3 separate regions of the Homo sapiens genome follow, and regions 1 and 3 are each linked to region 2. Evidence: promoter capture Hi-C in 16 types of primary human blood cells and fetal thymus (Javierre and others, 2016). All regions are on one chromosome and are shown on one strand. The core of a region is centred on a gene start or on the middle of the fragment in contact, and the rest is flanking DNA. Distances in the headings are between cores, read along the strand shown.

The links. Contacts are between HindIII fragments. The CHiCAGO score rates a contact against its expected background, and 5 or more counts as called.
Region 1: a contact is called between a fragment that was not itself captured here and the fragment with the promoter of ACSL3 in region 2, in 6 of 17 cell types (total CD8 T cells, M1 macrophages, naive B cells and 3 more). The highest score is 6.2, in total CD8 T cells.
Region 3: a contact is called between a fragment that was not itself captured here and the fragment with the promoter of ACSL3 in region 2, in 10 of 17 cell types (fetal thymus, neutrophils, M1 macrophages and 7 more). The highest score is 10.6, in fetal thymus.

Annotation. Positions count from the first base shown.
Region 1 is chr2:222,630,527-222,633,226 of GRCh38, reverse strand. FARSB (phenylalanyl-tRNA synthetase subunit beta) reads left to right here. Exons shown (of 17, transcript NM_005687.5): 7 at 1-28; 8 at 1,553-1,623. Among named protein-coding and RNA genes, the nearest start is that of FARSB, 24 kb to the left of the region's middle. The HindIII fragment of the contact is 1,318 bases long and covers 748-2,065 here.
Region 2 is chr2:222,859,684-222,862,431 of GRCh38, reverse strand. ACSL3 (acyl-CoA synthetase long chain family member 3) reads right to left here and starts at 1,396. Exons shown (of 17, transcript NM_004457.5): 1 at 1,174-1,396. RefSeq lists silencers at 901-1,270, 1,341-1,670 and an enhancer at 1,387-1,681. The HindIII fragment of the contact is 2,380 bases long and covers 1-1,965 here.
Region 3 is chr2:222,678,654-222,681,535 of GRCh38, reverse strand. The region is part of intron 1 of MOGAT1 (monoacylglycerol O-acyltransferase 1); the gene reads right to left. Among named protein-coding and RNA genes, the nearest start is that of MOGAT1, 8.4 kb to the right of the region's middle. The HindIII fragment of the contact is 4,623 bases long and covers 1-2,882 here.

The sequences.
Region 1 (2,700 bases), core at 157-2,656, 230 kb after region 2:
GTCCTTTCAATGCCTCCCATCATCAATGGTGAGTTATTTTATAAGCATCACAGATCTTTGCTGTTTCCTTTTAATCTTCAGCATTTCTGTAGAATTCTCAATAGACTTGGCTGAATCAAATTCAAATAACTCATAATCTGAGTATCTCAGGTCTTTTGTAGATTCTAATCATTCTTTTCATTCATTTATTCAACAACATTTTATTGGTGATTCTTATGTAACTTATGCTCATACATTTATAAATATTTTCTGATGCTAGGTTTTGGGTTCTATTATGTTTCTTCAAAGGTTATTGATGTTTTGGTTTTAGCAAGTAATTCACTTGGTTAAACTCAAAGTCAAACTCTGTCATGTCTGTAGTTTTTTTTCTTTTGTTTTTTTTTTTTGTTGTTGTTGTTTTTTGTTTTGTTTTTGAGACAGGCTCTTGCTCTGTCGCCCAGGCTGGAGTGCAGTGGTGCAGTCATGGCTTACTGCAACCTTAAACTCCTGGGCTCAAGCGATTCTCCCACCTTGGCCTCCCAAAGCCCTGGGATTATAGATGTGAGCTGCCGTGCCTGGCCTTGCCTAGTTATATAGTTAAACAAAAACTTTTAATTTAAATTTTGCCCTCTTAATTCCTTTCTGAAGGCTATTTTTATGAGGCAGTTTGAATGTATTTACAAAACTTAATGATGTCTGAGACATAGATGTTTGCGTTTCTGGAGGTAAGAAGGAGGCTTAGCTGATTTGCTATGAGAAGGAGAAGCTTCTTCTCAAGATCTTGGACCCTAGTAGTTACAGTGGTTAAGAACATGGGCCCCAGAGTTAACCAGTTCTAGACCCAAATCCTAGCCTTGCTGCTCATGATCATGGTCAAATAGTTTAATCTCTCTGAATTTAGTTTCTTGCCAGCAATTACATCATAGGATTGTGGTAAAGATTAGAGGAGACAACCTATGTTAAGTGCTTGGCATAGCACCTGACACATTGTATGCATTCAGTAAAGGCCTGTTAATTATTTTATTTTTATTCTTCAACTTGCAGTAGGAGCTTTAAATATAAGTTGTTTATCCCTTTGCTCTTAAGATGTTAGGTTTTTTTTTTATTATTTTTATTTTTTTGAGACAGAGATTTGCTTTTGTTGCCCAGGCTGGAGTGCAATGGCACACTCTCGTGCCATTGCACCATGTCGTGCCATTGCACCATGTCGTGCCATTGCACCATCTCGGCTCACCACAACCTGCACCTCCCGGGTTCAAGCAATTCTCCTGCCTGAGCCTCCCAAGTAAGTGGGATTACAGGCATGCGCCACCACGCCTGGCTAATTTTGTATTTTTAGTAGAGAAGGGGTTTCTCTGTGTTAGTTAGGCTGGTCTTGAACTCCTGACCTCAGGTGATCCGCCCACTTTGGCCTCCCAGAGTGCTGGTGGGTGTGAGCCACCATCCCTGGCCAAGGTGTTAGTTTTTAATATGTTTTACATTTAAAATGTAGTTTCTGTTTTGTTGAGCTTAATAGTGCACTTCTATTTCTGAAATTAGTTATTTTAATGTTATTGTTTTGTGTTCATTGCAGGGGATCATTCCAGAATAACAGTAAATACTAGAAATATTTTTATTGAATGCACGGGAACTGACTTTACTAAGGTAAGTAAAACTTTTACTCAATTTTTGTATGATCAGCTGGGATAGATTTTATTTCCGGACCAAGACTAAGTGGCTAAAATTTAAAATATGTGCATTTTGTAGGTGGGAACATATTTTAGAAATTTAGACAATTAAAAAGATAGAGATATTCTACACTTTGGTTATGGTGCTTTCATTAATTCGACAAATGTTTAGTGAGCACCAAATGTCTTTCCAGTGCCAAGAATTTAATAATGAGTTACATGTCTCTTCACTTCAAAGAACTCCTAGGGGGAGAGTTAGTCATATACGTAACTATAAAACACAAAATGGAATGAGTACTATAGCGAAATCCATATAAATTGTTTATCTAGTTGACTTAATTTATATGCGGAGTAATTTGGTACCTTTGTGTACTTGTTAAAATCTTAAAAAAAAAAAAGGAACTGGCGATGAAGAAGCTTTATTTAGTAAATTGATAGATGGTTGGTTTATGCACACAAAATTATCTAGAATATAATTCTTCACCCACTTTGAGTCAGTTCATCTATTGGAATGGATTGCTATGAAAGCTTTTTCTATGACATATGACTTCTTTACATATGTTAAATGAGGTGGCAGTTAAACAATTTAAAAAAGGTAACCTCAAATGGCAGGAGAAGGCTGGAGTATAGAAATAGGGCAAATAAATGGTATTCATGTACATCTTATAGGATTAGAGACCATTGTAAGGTATTTCCTTTATAACTTTTAGGTACTCCTTGCCTTCAGAAATATTGTCAGGGTAGTACAGCTTTTAATATTAATTTTTTAAAAAATTTAATTCGTGCATTTACAGACCTTGAATGTCTTTCCTGAAGCCTGTATATATAGGAGTGAAATATTTATATAAGAGTAAAGCATATATTCCAATAAGGTCACGGTATTTTTTTTCTAAGAATTTTTTTTGAAATAGAAAAATTATTTAACAAATCTATATGGTGTTTACTACATGCCAATTATTTAATCTTTGTAAGTACCAGACAAGATAGGAATTTTCATTATCTCCTTAACAGGTAAGAAAAGTGGTTTGCCTAGTGTCATACTGTTAATAAGTGC
Region 2 (2,748 bases), core at 147-2,646:
GGCCACCCAGACTAAAATCCACTGTGGAAACTATTCAGCCAGCCACCAAGGAGAGGCAGCAAAATATAGTGCTTAGATTTCAGAGCTCTGGATTTACACAGGCCTGTCTGAATCCCAGCTTCTTACTAGCTGAGATCTGAGGCAAGCTAAGTCGTCCAATCTGCAGTTTCTCCCGCTGTAAAATGGGAATAACCCCCACCCCAGAGGACTGTTAACAGTGTGAAGACACTGTACATAAAGCTCTCCAAACAGTGCGTGGCATGTAATAAAAGCTCAATAAATGTCAGCTATTTGTCATTCTTTTCAGCTATAATTTCGTTCACAAAGCCTACTGCCTTTCTAGCTTCCATATAATTTTAAAGACATTCCTCCAGCCTTTTCATTTTCGAGGGATCTTTTATACAGCAGCTTAGAGCACACTTTCTAGTATCAGACTTCCTGCGAAAACCATTTGAAAACCTGTGCCTCGGGCTCCTCATCTGTGAAACGAGCCTGATAACACCTACCCCACAGGACTGCTGGTAGTAAGCAGTCCCCGAGTTACCCAACCTATCAACAGTATATGATTAAAACGCACTTGGGGAAAAGCAAAGCTGCAACTCTCAAACCCCAAACGACAGTCTTAATCCCAGTCCCACCACCACGATAGTGCCCAGAACCAATCACCAAGGTCGACCCACCTCACGCACCTAGTTTCTTCTCACCCCACGCAGCAACAGCCCCTCCCGCCCCGCCAAACAAGGGTTTTCCGAAATCGCAGGGCTGAGTCTCCTTCCACGGACACCGCACTGCTGGGGCCGCGGCAGAGCCCTCTTAATTCAAGGGGGTGGCCTCCCCACCCCGCCCCACAGCGCCGGGAGGCACGCAGTGCATCCTCCCTGCCTGGTCAGCGCCGCCCCACGCCGTTCGCGCTGCAGCTCCCGGCTCGCGTGGGCTCAGGGCCGAGGCCCCACGTCAGCCGCTTCCCGGACCCCAGCGGGCCGCCTCCCACCCTGCTCGCCGCTGCTCCTGGTGCCGCGGGCCGCCCGCGCGCACACCCAGCGGTCAGGTGCGGCGCCGACGACAGGGTCCCAGGCCCCGAGGCTGGGGAGCCCCTCGGGCCCAGCCGAACCGCACGCGGAGGCCGCGCCGCCAACCGGCTCCCGCCGCTCCCACAACCGGCGCCGCACTCACCGCTACGCCGGAGTCCGGGTTCCTCCGGCCTCGGGCCCGCGCAGGCCTGGCTGAGCCCCAGAGCGTTCACGCCCCGCGCCGCCGCCCGGGGATCCTGGCGCAGCTGTCGGGGCCGCAATGCGAGGGGACGAACGTATGCGACCCCGTCCAACGCCTCCTCGTCCCGGCCCCGGCCGCGTAGACAACTGCAGTGTCGCAGCCCGGCGCAGCCACAGCAGCGTCTGTTGAGCGGAACCGCCTGGGACGCTCACCCCCGGCCGGCACTCGTTGCCTATGCAGAGAGGCTGCCACCCATTGGCCCGCGAGCGGTGGCGCGTGCGGGGCTGGGCCTATCGAATTCGGGCCGGGGAGCGCGGCGCTGGCGGCCCGGGGCGGGGCGAGGTTACTACGGGTCATTCCGCGGAGCCGCCGCGGACCGGACCTGGCTGCAGTCTGCGCGGGGCGGGGGCGGGAACGGGGTCGACCAGGAGGGACGGACCGCGGGTGGGGGAGGGGAGCGGGGATCTGCGGCAGCGACGTGGGAGGAGCGGCTAGCCCAATAGGGTCTGCAGGAGCTCCGTCCCTCCAGGAAAAAACACCCCTCCACCAAAAAAAAAAAAAAAAAAATTACAGTCGCACAATTATTGCTGTAATGTATAAATTTCAATATAAATTATGAAATAGTATGCATATTCTTTTTCGTTTTTAACTGGATTAGTTATCCCGTTCTTGCAGAAATTGCTGTCAAATCCTGCCAAATAAAATGGCTTTTGGAACTGCCTGGGGCAAGAAGAGCCTCAAAAACTCAAAGCTTATCCATTATCATTTCTCTTGTTTTGGCCTCACTTGACCTAGCATATAACCCGTTTTCCTCTAAATGCACTCACCATGCAAATTTGCTATTTCTTTTCAAAAAATAAAGTTTACTCCAAATTATTGTTTTTGAACGTTCTTAGGAATCCACAGTGGTTCTGTATTTTAAGGAGTTTGCCATTGTTTCTCGTTTTAGACACTAAACAAGGATAAGAAAGAAAGCATCCAGTGCAGGTAGTAGAACTACATGTACTGTAAGAGAGAAGATTTTCACTCACCCAGTACTAGTAGGATTGGTCTCTTTTTTTAACCCAACATATTGTTTAGTTTGCCTGTGAACTTTTCCTTAAGTAGGTGAAAGGTTGCCTTCCTGAGCCAGCCTCAGGCTAAAGCAGGCCTCATTTCCCAAGAGAATCAAAATCAGGAAGCCGCCAGAACTTGAACTAGGTGGAGCGATGATGCACCAAGCAAAGAGAGCTCACTCACCGTGGGCCAAGGGCCAATCGAGAACCTAAAGGGATGGATACCTGACTCAGGCAAACTGTTCTCCCACTTCAAAATATGGCAGTTCAGTTGCTCATTAATCTGTTGAAATCTTATCAAAGGATACATCCTGAAGATAAATGGAATGCAGAATTTCTTATCTGAAAAGACATTCGCAGCTCTGCAGAGAGAAGCAGGCTTTAGAAGTAGTACTTCTAGAACCATGAAATCCTCTGGAAAATACTGGTTTTTTTCCGAGAGAAGAAAACTAATATTGCACCTTTTTATCTATCCATAAGC
Region 3 (2,882 bases), core at 189-2,688, 180 kb after region 2:
TGGTGAACACAATCACAAGCTGAGAGATTGGTGTACCCCAACACCATGGGGACAGAAACTCCTGTGCTTTGGAACATTTCAGACCCCTACCTGGGTACCTAATCATCTATATCATTTATCATATCCATTATAATAAACTGCCAAACATAAGTGTTTTCCTGAGTGCTATGAGCCATCATAGCAAATGACAGAGTCCAAGGAGGAGGTCGTGTGAATCCTCAATTTGTAGCCGTCAGAAAGAAGCACAAGTGCCAACCTGGACTTGTGGTTGGCATCTAAAGTTGGGGCAGTCTTGTAGACTGAGCTCTTCACCTGTGAGACCTAGCTCCAGGTAGACAGCATCAGAACTGAACTATAGAATACCTAGTTGGTGTCTGGAGAGTTGGAGAAGGGTTGGTCCAGCAAAACCAGGGACATAAATTTTCAGTTTCCATGAATTGAAGACTTTCGACAAGGAGTGGTGGCCAGGTCTGTGGCTTCTTGAAAGCGCTTAAGTGCTTACACAGACAATTCCCATACATTAATGATTTTCCCTCTCTTGTCGCTACCCTTTCTGACTCCATTCCACTCACCTAGCTATTTACAATAAGTGAAATTGTTCTATAAAATCTCCATGAGCAACCTGCATCAGCCAAAACATTGTGAAAGCCACTGAATGTTTATTTACTTGCATTAAATAATGACCATAATTAAGAAATAATTTAAGACTTTAACTTGTATATGTATTGTTTCTTCCTATTCTCATCCAAAAAATTTTCATTTTTTTCTGCATGAAAACTGTTTCCATACTTATTTTAACCATTTAACGTAGTATGGAGAAAGTAAGTAAAATTCAGAGGCAAGCAAAAATCCATTAGCACCTCTTTTCCTTCTTATTCCCGGAGACACTATATTTTTTAAATACCTATCCGTGCCATCTGTAGAATATAAGAATGTAAGTGTAAATTCTTCTGATTTTAAAAATTTCTATTTTAAGAGAACTTGCCTCCCAGAGTTTTTAAGGATTGTGCTAAAAGACAAATCTCATCAGACCCCTTTGCAGAATTTTGCAGCCTAGTTTTCTTCATATGTGTGTTTATTCTACACTGCTTTTAAAAAGTGTTACATACAGGGAAATACCTTTCTCTTGTTTTATAGCACAGCCAATATTGAACCTACTTCCTTGCCTGATGAAGGCAAATAAATTATAACAAAGATCTGGCTGAAACCAGCCCCATGTTCTAAATCTTTCAGGAAGGTTTCTATAAACACAAATACTTTGTATAGTTCAACCTGAAATCCATGGAGATAATCCATAATAAAAGAGACACACTAGTGTTTATGAAAGCCCAAGAATCCCTTGCGTAATGTTAAAATGTACTTTCTCCAAATTTTCCAGATTGAAGGAACTAAAAAGACAAAATAATGTGAAAAGACAAAATTACAGCAAATTTAGTTATGGAGCTAATTGACTTTTATTCACTATTCATTAATCAGGGCAGCCTCCATTCTGCAAAATAGAAGGAGAGCTTTTACCGAGAAATGGTGGAACAGTGGGTAAGGTAGAAACAAAGAAAACAGAACAAGAGGGAAGAAAAAGTGGATTGGCTATTGTCATGTCACTTCAGGTTGCTTTTTCATAAAGTTAAAGCAAAGCAGACTTCCTTATTACACGGACTCAGGCAGACTGAATCTCCTGTTTTCAGGAAAACTGGTCTGTTTGGAGATCTACCTGCTTCCTTGAAGTTTCAAGTTTGATCATGTGGCACATAGGATGAGTGACTCCACTTTGGTTTGCTCAGGTCTGCTGGAGCCTAGTGCAGGAGCTCAGTCCAAAACAATGACTGCTCATAATTTCTGTTTAACACAACTAAATACAACATGTGGATTCCTTTGCTATACAGGACATTAGTAAGGGAACTTCTGAAATATGAATAATGTCTATAGGTCATAGTATTGTATTGTTATTTTTCTGATTTGGGTAATTGTACTGTGGCTGTGGAAGAGAAATGTTCTTGGTTTTAGGACATATGTACTGTAATCAGTTCAGTTAGTTTTCTACAAATTAAACTATAAGCTAATTCCAATCAAACAGCAATCCCAATCAAAATCCCAGGAGGGTTTTTTGGTGTGGAAATTGTTAACCTGATCCTAAAATGCATATGGAACTGATAAGGACGTGGAATAATCAAAACACCTGTGAAAAACAATACCACCAACAAAGTTTGAAGACTAACAGTATCTGATTTCAAGAATTATTATAAAGCTATAATAATCAAAACAACAGGGTACTGGCATCAAGATAGATGAACAGATCAATGGCACAGACTAGAGAGTCTAGAAATAAACCCATGCATATATGGGCAATTGATATTTGATAAAGGCACAAGGGCAATGCAGTAGAGAGCAGATAGTGATCTACCAAAAAAGAGCTGGAACCATTGGATTATATATATGCAGAAAAATGGATTTAGACACTGTACCACACACAAAAATTAACCCTAAATAGATCATAGATCTATATGGAAAACCTAAAACTATTAACACTGGTAGGAGAAAATATAGAAGAAAATTTTTGTGACCTTGGATTAAGCAAAGAACTTTTTTTTTTGAGACGGAGTTTTTTGATCTTGTCACCCAGGTGCTGGAGTGCAATGGCACGATCTCAGCTCACTGCAACCTCCACCTCCCGGGTTCAAGCAATTCTCCTGCCTCAGCCTCCCAAGTAGCTGAGACTACAGGCACCCGCCACCATGCCTAGCTAATTTTTATATTTTTAGTAGAGGCAGGGTGTCCCCATGTTGGCCAGGCTGGTGTTGAACTCCTGACCTCAGGTGATTCACCTGCCTCGGCCTCTCAAAGTGCTGGGATTACAGGCATGAGCCAGCACACCCAGCCAGATT